Regions from separate parts of the Homo sapiens genome. Here regions 1, 2 and 4 are each linked to region 3. Evidence: promoter capture Hi-C in 16 types of primary human blood cells and fetal thymus (Javierre and others, 2016). All regions are on one chromosome and are shown on one strand. The core of a region is centred on a gene start or on the middle of the fragment in contact, and the rest is flanking DNA. Distances in the headings are between cores, read along the strand shown. Region 1 has its middle 50 kb from the start of CCDC190. Region 2 overlaps RGS5 (regulator of G protein signaling 5). Region 3 holds the start of RGS4 (regulator of G protein signaling 4). Region 4 overlaps LOC127814295 (a long non-coding RNA gene).

What was found. The method cuts DNA at HindIII sites, captures the fragments that hold promoters and counts their contacts. A CHiCAGO score of 5 or more calls a contact.
Region 1: a fragment that was not itself captured here is called in contact with the fragment with the promoter of RGS4 in region 3 in 1 of 17 cell types (endothelial precursors); the score reaches 8.2 in endothelial precursors.
Region 2: a fragment that was not itself captured here is called in contact with the fragment with the promoter of RGS4 in region 3 in 1 of 17 cell types (endothelial precursors); the score reaches 5.1 in endothelial precursors.
Region 4: a fragment that was not itself captured here is called in contact with the fragment with the promoter of RGS4 in region 3 in 1 of 17 cell types (endothelial precursors); the score reaches 5.8 in endothelial precursors.

Annotation. Positions count from the first base shown.
Region 1 is chr1:162,909,682-162,912,896 of GRCh38, forward strand. No RefSeq gene overlaps it. Among named protein-coding and RNA genes, the nearest start is that of CCDC190, 50 kb to the left of the region's middle. The HindIII fragment of the contact is 5,166 bases long and covers 1-3,215 here.
Region 2 is chr1:163,196,647-163,199,993 of GRCh38, forward strand. All of the region lies in intron 1 of RGS5 (regulator of G protein signaling 5), which reads right to left. The region is part of intron 2 of RGS5-AS1 (RGS5 antisense RNA 1); the gene reads left to right. Among named protein-coding and RNA genes, the nearest start is that of RGS5, 4.6 kb to the right of the region's middle. The HindIII fragment of the contact is 1,628 bases long and covers 1,114-2,741 here.
Region 3 is chr1:163,067,610-163,070,621 of GRCh38, forward strand. It overlaps RGS4 (regulator of G protein signaling 4), which reads left to right and starts at 1,752. Exons shown (of 5, transcript NM_005613.6): 1 at 1,752-1,919. The coding sequence starts at 1,876. The HindIII fragment of the contact is 6,604 bases long and covers 1-3,012 here.
Region 4 is chr1:163,290,919-163,294,022 of GRCh38, forward strand. All of the region lies in intron 3 of LOC127814295 (a long non-coding RNA gene), which reads right to left. It also overlaps a transcript of RGS5 not described here. Among named protein-coding and RNA genes, the nearest start is that of NUF2, 29 kb to the right of the region's middle. The HindIII fragment of the contact is 2,695 bases long and covers 283-2,977 here.

The DNA of each region.
Region 1 (3,215 bases), core at 236-2,735, 160 kb before region 3:
GACCATCCTGGCTAACACGGTGAAACCCCGTCTCTACTAAAAATACAAAAAATTAGCCGGGCGTGGTAGTGGGCGCCTGTAGTCCCAGCTACTTGGGAGGCTGAGGCAGGAGAATGGTGTGAACCTGGGAGGTGGAGCTTGCAGTGAGCTGAGAACGTGCCACTGCACTCCAGCCTGGGTGCCAGAGTGACACTCCATCTCAAAAAAAAAAAAAAAAAAAGAAAGTGGGGTATTCAAATATCTATTATCATTGAATTGTGCCTATTTTGCTCTTTAATTCTATAGTTTTTGCTACAGTAGCTAAGTTTATTGGTGTTTATGATTGTTATCTCCACTTGATGAGTTGATTTTTATTATTATAAAGGGTCCCTGTGGCATAATAAGAAAGATGTTTAGCCTTTGTCCCCAGTTTCTGGCACAGAGCTTCTAAGACTCTTGGAATTCTTTAAGCGATATGGATTTTGAACTGTCTTTTGTTCTAATGAGGTGACTCTTCTTGGAAGGCCACTAGATAGCTTCAGGAAGGGAGCTGGTCTCCAGAAAAGCCAAGTTTTAGAAGTTTCAGCCCCATACTCCAAACTCCAGGGAGAAAAGAAGGACTAGAGACTGAGTTAATCATCAATAGCAATTTAATCACAGACTATGATTTAATCAGTCGTGCCTATGTAATGAAACCTCCATAAGCTATTCTAAATGATGAGGTTCAGAGAGTTTCCAGATTAGTGAACACATCAAGAAGCTGAGAAATTTGCATGCCCAGTGTGGCATGGAAGCTCTGTGCCTCCCCTCTCCATACCCTGTCCTGTGTTTCTCTTTCATGCCTCAAAAAGTTGTATTCTTTGTTCCGATGTGTCTCCTTTGTAATAATTGGTGAATAGCAAGTAAAAACACTTTACTGAGTTCTGTGAGTTGTTCTGGCAAATTATCAAAACTGAGCTGAATGTGAGGCCATGGGGGAGGTTATGAGGAACCCCAGATTTGTAGCCATGTCAGAAAGAAGTCTGGGTAATCTGAGGATCTATGGCTAGTGTCTAAAGTGAGGGCAGTTTTGTGGGACTGAGCTCTCAAACCTGTGAAGTCTAATGCTAATTCTGTGCAGTTGGTGTCAGAACTAAATTGAATTATAGGACACTTAGTTGTTTGAGAGTTGAAGAAGTGTTATTGCAAAAGACTACATATCTGGTGTCAGGAGGAAGAAAGTCTTCAGTAACAATTTTTTCTTAAAGTCTATTTTGTTTGGATTAGCTCAGTCACTCTACTCTCTTTTGATTACTTGTTGTATGATACATCTTTTTTGAGTCTTTTACTTTCAACCTATTTGTGTCTCTGAATCTGAAGTGTTTTTCTCTAGACAACAAATAGTTGAATCATTTAAAAATTTGTTCTGCCAATCTCTTTCAATCTCTTTTAAGTGCTTAATGCATTTATATTTTATATAATTATTATACTTATTAATTATGATTAATGCATTATAGTTTATATAGTTACTGGTAAAGGATTTAAATCTGACAGTCTTCATTTTCTACATGTCTTTTTTTGTTTGTTACTCCATTACTGTCTTCTTTTCTATTAACTAGATACTTTCTAGTGTACCATTTTAATTCCCTTATCAATGTTTACTATTTTTTTGAGTTATTCTCTTAGTGGTTGTCCTGGGGATTACAATGAACATATTCTTTTTAATAATTTAGTTTGGATTAATACCAATTTAGTTGAGACAGTATATAATATATATAGCTCCAATCTCTCCTTGTTCCTTTGTGATGTTATTGTTCTACAATTTGTATTTTTATGTATTATTTGACTGTCAGTATAGATTTATAATTATTTCTTTACGCAATTGACTTTTAAGTCAAATGGAAGAAAAAAGAGCTACAAACAAAAGATAGACTTATACTGTGTTTTATATTTGCTTATGTAGTTACCTTACTAGTATTTTATTTCTGCATGTGGATTAAAACTACTGTCAGCCGGGCGCAGTGGCTCACGCCTGTAATCCCAGCACTTTTGAAGGCTGAGGTGGGCAGATCATGAGGTCAGGGGTTCGAGACCAGCCTGGCTAACATGGTGAAACCCCAACTCTACTAAAAATACAAAAATTAGCCTGGCGTGGTGGCAGGTCTCTGTAATTCCAGCTACTTAGGAGGCTGAGGCAGGAGAATTGCTTGAACCTGGGAGGTGAAGGTTGCAGTGAGCAGAGATCATGCCACTGCACTCCAGCCTGGGCAACAGAGCAAGACTCAGTCTTGGGGAAAAACAAACAAACAAACAAACAAACAAACAAACAAACAAGCTACTGTCTAGCATCCTCTCATTTCAGCCTAAAGGAAACACTTCAGTGTTTTTTGGTAGGGCAGGTGTGCTAATAATAAATTCTCTTGTTTTTATTTATTTACAAATGTTTTAATTTCTCCTGCATTTTTGAAAAACACCTTTACTGGTCTGCTGGATATAGAGTTCCTGTTTAATAGTTTTGTCTTTTTTTTTTTTAAAAATCTGTCAGCACTTTGAATATGTCATCTCATTGCCTTCTATTCCCCATTGTTTCTGATGAGAAATCAGTTGTTAATCTTATTGAGAATCTCTTGTGTATGTGAAAAGTCACTTCTCTCTTGCTGCTTTCAAAATTATTTCAGTCATTTGACAGTTTGATTATGACATATGGATTCCTTGATGTTTATCTTATTTGGAGTATGTTGAGTTTCTTGGATGTGTAGATTAATGGTTTTCATCAAAATCTGGGAAGTTTTCAGCCATTATTTCTTCAGATATCCTTTCTTTCCTTTTTTCGTTCTGCTCTTCTTTTGTGTATGTCAATGAACTTGATGCTATCCCACAGGTTTCTTAGACTGTTCATTTTCCTTATTCTTTTTTTCCTGTTCTTCAGACTGGTTAATCTCAATTGACCCATCTTCAAGTTAATTGTTTTTTTGTTTTTTTTTCTTCTGGCTGCTCAGATTTGCTGTTGAGCCCATGTAGTAGATGTTTCTTTCTTCTTCTTTTTTTTGAGACAGAGTCTCACTGTCACACAGGCTGGAGTACAGTGGCAGGTGTGATCTTGGCCCACTGCAATCTCCACCTCCCACGTTCAAGCAATTCTTCTGCCTCAGCTTTTTGAGTAGCTGGGATTATAGGCTCCTGCCACCACACCTGGCTAATTTTTGTATTTTTAGTAGAGACAGGGTTTCACTGTGTTGGCCAGGCTGGTCTGGAAC
Region 2 (3,347 bases), core at 678-3,177, 130 kb after region 3:
CTCACCTAAGGGATACCATCATTGCAGCCAAAAGAAGACTCACCTCTTTAACAAGGCTTTCCTCATTATAGAAATGCAGACAGTCTCCTTCACTTTTCTTTTTCTCCTAATCCCCACTCCCCTTCTCCCATAGCAGGCACCTCTCTTTATTTAGCAACACACACTCTTTTTCCGATTGTGGCCTAAAATGTCAACACTGATACTGTTCTTGGTCTCCCCAATACCCAAGGAAAGCAGAGGAAATACCAAGCTGTCCTAGAAGTGCTCTTGTCTCTATTTGCTGTAACTTCATTCATGTATTCCTTCAACAAAATGTTTATTTGGTGTCTACTATACCAAATACAGTCTATCCTTTTAGTAATAAAATCATTTAGGTGAAGGGGAGGACTATCTTTCCCCTGAATAAATCTCTTCCATCCTCAGAGTTGGGAACAGATGAGCACTGGAGAAGTTCCCAGAGAACCATATGCAGGACTTGCTGCCCAGGAGGTTAACTGTGGTTAGAAACTCAGCGGTTTCCCTCCTTGCTGGCCTCTGAGAGATAATACAGGTTGTACATAGATGTCACAACATCAGCCAAATTGGCTGTGCCCGCCCATCTCTGGGTCTCTGCACACACAGGCCTGTCCCCTTCACCTAGATGGCCTTCCTTCTCTCTCCTCTTCCTGTCTAGACCTGGCTAACTCCTCTGTCCTCTTAGACTTTCTTCAAGCATCATCCGTATAACCTTGTAAATTCTTCCCTGCCCACTAAAAGCTCTAGGGGCCCCGCCTACCACCCCAACTTCTGTGCTTCTTGGCACTTTATGGATATATTCCTTCGTAGTGGATTGCAACACTGAGCATTAATTTTTTCTTATTTATCTCCCTAACTGGGCTTAAATTTCCATGGGAGCAGGGCATGGGTCTTTCATCCATATGCCTAAGGCAAGTACACAGGTTTGAAAGGCAATCTAGAGAAATCACTGATATTGTTTCATCAGTAGGAATCAAAATAAATGTTTTTCTTAGTGATCCCCCTCCAAATTTTATTAAATAGTTCATTCACTTTCTTAACATTCTAAAGTTTCACTACAATGCTTTCAATGACATCTCTAGAATATCAGGTATAGTAAGCTTGAAATTCATACTTATTCTCAGCAAGCATGATCCTAAACCCAACCAGAAGCTCTGCTAGGACCTCTCTCAGGTTTCTTTGATGGTCCTCAATTCATTCCAATTGAGCTATCAGTTGTTCAAGCTAATTGCCAGTCTTTAATTCACTTGGTGCTTGCCTTTTCTCTACAATTAGCCCAAGGATGTGCTTATGCCTTTGAATTTATTAATCCTGAAAACCCAGGAACCTTGACTCACTCTAGTGCTTTTAAAGGTTTAACAACCTCAGATTAGTTCATTAGTAGTCCTGCTTATTAGCTGCCTTTCTATTCTAAATTGTCCACACTTGACCCACATAAATCAGAGAACATGGGGAAAAAAATGATTGTTTTGTAAAATAATAATACATTTTAAAAACAAAATTTTTAAAAACAAAAATTTAAAATAAATTTAAAAATAATAAATGTTTGAAAATTACCTTTCCCATTTACTTCCTATGGCTTCTGAAATTCCTAGCATTGACACACCCTTGAGATGGCCAAAAGCCCCTGTGTGAACTGTGGATTAAACACATTATACCCTTAGCCCTTCTCAGTCTGAAACAGAAATCAGATCTATGCCAGTCACCCAGAGTAGCAAAGGGCTTGTAGCTCTTTAAAATACTAATAACTGCACTGGTTCCTTTATATTATGATGATATTTAGATTTTTGAGACTATTGCTCATTAAAATTTTAAGGAGGCCTCATATACTTTTATATATTTAAAGAAACAAATAATCCAAACTTTTGGGCAATGAATAACCATAAGCACACAGTTTTAAGCCTAAAAATCAAAGTTGTCATCATAACATAAAGCAACCAGTTCAATTATTAGTATTATCAGTTTTTTAAAATAATCCTCTTTTTTCAGAGATGGGGTCTCACTCTGCACCCAGGCTGGAGTGCAATAGTAGCAATCATAGCTCACTATAGCCTCAGACTCCTGGGCTCAAGCAGTCCTCTCACCTCAGCTCCTGAATAGCTGGCACTACAGGTGCTATCCACTGTGCCTGGCTAATATTTGTGGTGTTTTTATTTATTTATTTTTTGTTGTTGTTTGTTTGTTTGTTTTTAGAGACAGGGTCTCCCTGTGTTGCCCAGGCTGCCCTTAAACTCCTGGCCTCAAGTGATCCTCCCACCTTGGCCTCCCAAAGTGCTGGGATTACAGGCAGGAGTAATGTGCCTGGCCAATAGTAACATTTTTTGTTTCATAATACATTCATCTTTTCCCAAAGAGCAATATTTACTTTAAAATTTAAACTTGTTTAGAGAAATTCAACAGACTCTGAAAATAAAATAAATTTTCAAAAGAAGCCTAAAATTCAAACTTGAAAATCATGGGTAAAAATAAGGTATTAAATTGACGCGACTCTTTTCTTTTTCATTGACAGTATAAGATTCTCACCCATATAGTACAGGTTTCAATATGCCAGAGGGTAGAAACTCTGTGCTTATGGTTATTCATTGCCCAAATGTTTGAATTATTTGCCTCTTTAAACATATAAAAGTATGCGAGTCCTACTTAAAATTTCAATAAGCAATAGTCTTAAAAATCTAAATAAATAAAGAATAGTTTATACAAATATATCAAAGTTGACTTTGGCTGAAAGCTTCCCTGGACATTCAGAAAGGAATATTTTCTAGGATTAGATTTCTCCTTACATGTCATGGAAAAGTTAATCTTTGTTAATTGTTGAAATTTTCTTACTTTATGCGGCAGATTTTTGGATATCCTTACCCATTATATATATTCCACCCTTTAATCTTATGGAAAAAAACTTCTCTTTTTGTTGTTTAAAAAAAAGTTTATTTTATATTCTTTGCTAATAAAGAGTTGCTGTCAAAAACAATTCCCCTTACAGGAAGCAAATTATTCTTATAATTGCTTTCTTATAAATCAGCATTAGAATCACTGAGCAGGTTGCTTCTGCCATGGCCCAGTGGTTTCAGCACAGGGCTGGGTCCTTGATTATTTTTCATTATTTGATTCTTCATTCCTCCCAAACTTTATTTTTATGTTAAATTAATTAATTAATTGATTTTTAGAGACAGGCTCTTGCTCTGTTACCCAGGTTGGGGTACAGTGGTGCAATATGACTCACTGCAGCCTCAAACTCCTGTCCTCAAGGGATCTTCCTGCCTTAGCCTCCCAAAGTGCGAGGATTATAGGCATGAGCCACCATGCCCCACCTGCTCTCAAACTTTTATAGAAAA
Region 3 (3,012 bases), core at 502-3,001:
AGTGATCACTCTTTTAGGTGCCCAGGTAAACAAAGAAGGCCATGGTCTTTCTTTGAGTGACCTTCTTTCCCTTTTAATTAGTCTGACCTCTTTAATGTCAGTTCTGACTGATTCATTTCCCTGGTCCATCTTCCTTGGTCTGAGGGCCTTCCTAGTTTCATATTGCACTTCAGTTCCTTCCACACCACCATCAAGGATGGCTGTCAACATTCATTTGTTCTATGTTATAATTCAAGGAAAAGTTGCCCAGTAGCTAATCCAATAAATGCCCTCTTATGGGCGGCTAGAGACTTTTTCCTATAATTTAAATGCATCTTCTGTAGATTATGGTCCCTCCACCACTTTACATTTGTCTGCTGTCTCCTTGCTCTGCTAGTCATGGAACGTGTTGGTAGTGGGGGCAGTGTGGGATGTTCAAGGGCACGTATTGGGTAGGGCCACATATGGGCATTGCTTTGTGCCATTCTTTCTATATTTTTGGTATTTTGCATCTCACTGGAACCCAACTATTTTTCATCTCTTCCACCTAAACTATTTGATGCCTCTGTTTCTTATATATAAAGTATAGCTCACTGTAGCCTATGATCAGGAACCTATCTGCTTTCTAAATGAAAGCTGTTTTGGTCAGATCTAGCAATTAATTCCCTTCTTCCACTTATAGCTTTCCTCTGTAACTCTGGTGTAGGTATTTGGTTTATGGCTATAAGATGTGAAACACCTGAATGATTCTGTCCATGCAGGCATTTCAGTTCATGATATTGTATGTAAAAGATACTGATTGTCTAGGTGTTCAGAAACACCTATAGGGCTTAATATTCTTACAATCAGTTTGAAGGCTGGTGATACGCAAAGCAAACTACATATTTTTCTGCCTGCTCTCTCTCTTTCTCTCTACATCTCTCTTTCTTTATCTTTTGAAATATCAGTTTGGAGACTTAGAATTACATAAGACATAAACCCATTTGATATAAGAATTGCTGTGTATATTTGCTCATCTACTCCCTCCTTTGGTCCTCGAGCTGCCGGTTTAGACTTTTTACAGGACGCAGGCATGTGAAGGAGAAACTGTCAGTGCTAGGCTGAATTCTGTTGTTACCAAGATTTCTAGAAAAGTATTCCTCAGTCAGGTTGATTACAGATATAGCAAATCTATTTTTCCTAGGGTAGTTTCTGTATGCTGCCGGGCTTATAACTGTCTGTCATCCAGCTATTTCTCTCCACCTTCTTGTTTGCATAACAACCAAGGCAACTTCCGCAAATCACTGCGTGGAGACGATGATCCTGCCAGCTCCCTTTTGGAAATCGTGAGGATCAGATCTTGGACCATGTATAATATGATGCTTCTAATCCAAAAGAGGAAAGGCATTGGGAGTCAGCTCCTAAGTAAGCTCCAGAATTCCTGCTGGTACTTTTCCTTCCAGGAAGCAACTTCCTTGATATTTTTTTTTTACAGGCATATGAATAAAAACTATATTTTGCAGCATTGTACACTTTTTTTCCTTTTCTAGAAATTCTAAACCTCTGACATTGGTGGAGACATTGAGTACATTTTTTCCCATATCCCTACTTTTCAGAAGGATTTTCTCTGCTCGTTCACTTAACATTGCTGATGCGTCAGTCTTTTCTTCCTCATCTCTTTCAGGGGCTGGAGAGGCAGAGGGAGACAGAGGAGCTGGTACTGCAGAGCGGTCGTCTGATTGGCTGGACGGTCGTAGCTGGGCTATAAAAGAGACCCCTACAGGCTTAGCAGGAAGACGCTCAGAGGATTCTGACAATATCTTTACCGGAGAAGAGGCAAAGTACGCTCAAAGCCGAAGCCACAGCTCCTCCTGCCGCATTTCTTTCCTGCTTGCGAATTCCAAGCTGTTAAATAAGATGTGCAAAGGGCTTGCAGGTCTGCCGGCTTCTTGCTTGAGGAGGTAAGATTGCTTTCAGCCATTAACCATATTAAACTTTTGGCTAGACTTTCTCAGTTATTTACATGTTGTACTTACTAACCTAGTTCTGTGCAATTAGAAACAGTGTGGTCAGGAGAGCACGACTTTCTAACTTTCCTCCAAGACTAGCTAGATATTGTGACTTAAGACATGTGCTCCCCAAATTTCAGCCCTTATGTGTTGTTTTGTGTGACCTCAGTTTTGAGAACTGTTCTATTCTTTAAGCCAGGTCTAAGAAAGCTAGTTTTAATTAAGAAGCGAGATGAGGTTTGAGGCTATGTACAGTGATCTGTAATATCTCCATCTGTGATTACTACTGCTATTTGAGCATCCCTGGAGTACATAGAAGCCTGGCTCTGGGCTTTCTGATTGTATGCTACAACTTGTTTCAGGAAAGGTACCCCAGAATGAGGTTTGGCTCCATCATCAGAAAGGCACTATGCTTTCCGTGTGGTGGTGCAGTAACTTTCACTCTCTATGTTCTTATAAGCAAATGTTACAATGAGATATGAGTTTTAAAGCCAGATCTTCCTTATCTCTCTGCCCCATCTCTAGTTCTTGAAGTGTCTCATATGAGTTTGGTTGAGAAATATTGATCATTACAAATCAGTTAATAGTTTTGTAGAAGATCTCATCTTAAAGACATTGTTTTGTTAATATACTCCCTTGATTTTTTTAAAAGACCTTACAGACATACAGCTATTCATTTGTTTTTGGTTTGTTCAAAAAAGGTATAAAGAAATGCATTCAGAGAAAGATCATATATTAGCCAGTTGAAAATTAAACACAAAATGAGTGCATATTACATTACTTAATCTTGCAGTCAAAGGTAAAAAGTCAACCTAAAGGTATACTACCTGCTTTCTTATCGCACTGCAAATAGAAATTACCACAAATTTTATTTTGGAAATAATCTCAGAAAACATAATTTTTTATGTACTATTAAAACATTTACTTTCCAAATATTCTGTCATTCAGGAGTATGGAAGTATCGATGGCTTCTTTAAAATGAAGCAGGAGGGTCTGGCAGAGAGTATCTATGAAATAAGTTCCTCTGACCTTCACGCTTAATTTT
Region 4 (3,104 bases), core at 380-2,879, 220 kb after region 3:
AGGCCAACATTATTTGTAAATGCCAACTACAGGAGTTTAATAATTTAAAATAACAGAACAGTTTAGTCAAACTGTTCTCCTACTACATAGACTTTACTGGTTTAATTAACTGAATCAAAAGATTTTGTTTATATCATGTGAATCCCCAGTACTGCAGATAGTTTCATCATTTCAGGGCATCCATTCTAAGAAAGATACATAAGCCCACTTATTAAAAAAAAAAAAAAGGTTCTCTGTAGAATCATAAAAACTCTCTGCTACTTCATGTCAAATCTCTAATGAAGCTTCCTTATTTTATTTAATGTGTTGTGAAGTTTTGCGTTTGCAAAAATTGTAACAGTGAGAAAATTATGGCGGCGGGCAGGGGGGTATCTATCTAGCCAACCCCATCATGCCTTTACCCTTCAAGCTGCCCTTAAGTATTCCTGGGTTTATGGCAAGCTAACTTTGGGAGCCATTTAGTTTATAGTTTAAGTGGTAATAGTACTTACCCCAAACTCAACCACCTTTGTGAAGTTAATGACAGACTACCAGGCTAGGAAGGGAGAGGAGCCAGAATTCTGCTAATGTGTAGATATAAATGACAGCCGGCCATGATTCTAGAGGTCACAAGATATGCAACTTCCCCAATTACTTCAGCAGGTAACATCACTATTATAGAATCTAAGATTGGCCTTTTGAGATAGCATTTCAGTTTTTTTGCATGTCTGACAACCGATAGTTCCATCTGGATGCACCAACCACTCCTGTGGCCCCACCCAGAAGTGGCTCAGTGAAAGAGGCCAGCTTAGACTCCCTATGATTTCATCTCTGACCCAACCAATCAGCACTCCCCATAGCCTAGCCACTTGCTCACCAAGCTGTCTTTGAAAAACTCTCCAAGTCTTTGAGGAGATTGATTTGAGTAATAACTCCATTTCCTGAGCGGTGTGGCCAGACTTGTGTTAATTAAATTTTTCTTCACTGCAATGACATGATCTCTGTGGCAATTGATTCTGTTTGTGCAGTGGGCAGGAAGAACTCGTTGGGATAAAAGGCATAGATGTGCCAATATAATTACTTTTCAAGCCCAAATAGAAATGATTTTTTTTTTAATTTTCAACTTTTAAGTTCAGGGGTACATATGAAGGATGTGCAGCCTTGTTACACAGGTAAACATGTGCCATGATGGTTTGCTGCACAGATCATCCCATCACCCAGGTATTAAGCCGAGCATCCATTAGCTACTCTACCTTATCTTCTCTCTCTTCTACCCCCCACCCTCTGACAGGCCCCAGTGTGTACTGTTCTCCAACATATATCCATGCATTCTCATCATTTAGCTCCCACTTGTAAGTGAGAACATGTGGTATTTGGTTTTCTGTTCTTGCGTTAGTTTACTAAGAATAATGGCCTCCAACTCCATCCATGTCCCTGCAAAAGACATGATCTCATTCCTTTTCATGGCTGCATAGTATTCCGTGGTGTATATGTACCACATTTTCTTTATCCAGTCTATCATTGATGGGCATTTAGGTTGATTCCATGTTTTTGCTATTGTGAATAGTGATGCAATGAACACACACATGCATGCATCTTTATAATAGAATGATTTATATTCCTTTGGGTATATACCAGTAATGGGATTGCTGGGTCAAATGGTATTTATGCCTCTAGGTCTTTAAGAAGTCACCACACTGTTTTCTACCATGGTTGAACTAATTTACACTCCCAAGAACAATGTAAAAGCATTTGTTTTTCTCCACAACCTCACCAACATCTGCTGTTTTTTGGCTTTTTAGTAATAGCCATCCTGACTGGTGTGAGATGGTATCTCAATGTGCTTTTGATTGGCATTTCTCTAATGATCAGTGGTATTGAGCTTTTCTTCATGTGTTTGTTGGCTGCATGTATGTCTTCTTTTGAGATGTTTTTGTTCATGTCCTTTGCTCACTTTTTAATGGGGTTTTTTGGTTTTCTGGTAAATTTGTTTAAGTTCCTTATGGATGCTGGATATTAGACCTTTGTCGAATGGATAGATTGCAAAAATTTTCTCCTATTCTGTAGGTTGTCTGTTTACTCTGTTGATAGTTTCCTTTGCTGTGCAGAAGCTCTTTAGTTTAATTAGATCCCATTTGTCAATTTTTGCTTTGTTGTAATTGCTTTTGGTGTCTTCATCAAGAAATCTTTGCCACTGTCTATGCCTGAATGGTATTGCCTGGGTTGTCTTCTACGGTTTTTATAGTTTGGAGTTTTACATTTAAGTCTTTAATCCATCTCAGGTTGAGTTTTGTATGTGGTGTAAGCAAGGTGTATTTGTTCATTTTCACACTGCTATAAAGAACTACCTAAGACTGGGTATTTATAAATAAAAGAGGCTTAATTGACTCACAGTTCCACATGACTGGGAAGTCCTCAGGAAACTTACAATCATTCCAGAAGATGAAGGAGAAGCAAGGCACATCTGACATGGTGGCAGGAGAAAGAGCGAGGGGAGGAAGTGCCACACTTTTAAACTATCAGATCTTGTGAGAACTCACTATCATGATAACAGCAAAGGGGAAACTGTCCCCATGATCCAGTAACCTCCCACCAGGTCCCTTCCTTGACACTTAGGGGTTAAAATTTGAATTACAATTTGAGATGAGATTTGGGTGGGGACACAGAGACAAACCATATCATTCTGCCCCTGGCCCCTCCCAAATCTCATGTCCTTTTCACATTTCAAAACACAATTATGCCTTCCCAACAGCCTGCCAAAGTCTTAACTCATTCCAGCATTAACCCAAAAGTCTAAGTCCAAAGTCTCATCAGAGATAAGGGAAGTCCCTTCCAACTACGAGCCTGTAAAATCAAAAACAAATTAGCTACTTCCAAGATACAATGGAGGTACAGACATTGGGTAAATGTTTCTGTTCCAAATAGGTAAAACTGGCCAAAACAAAGGGGCCACAGGCACTTTGTTTATAAGTCTGAAACCTGGCAGGGCACTCATTAAAGCTTAAAGCTCCAAAATAATCTCCTTTGGCTCCATGTCTCACATCCAGGGCACAGTGATACAAGGAGTGGCCTCCCAAGGCCTTGGGCAGCTCTGCCTCTGTGGCTCTGCAGAGTATAGCCCCCAC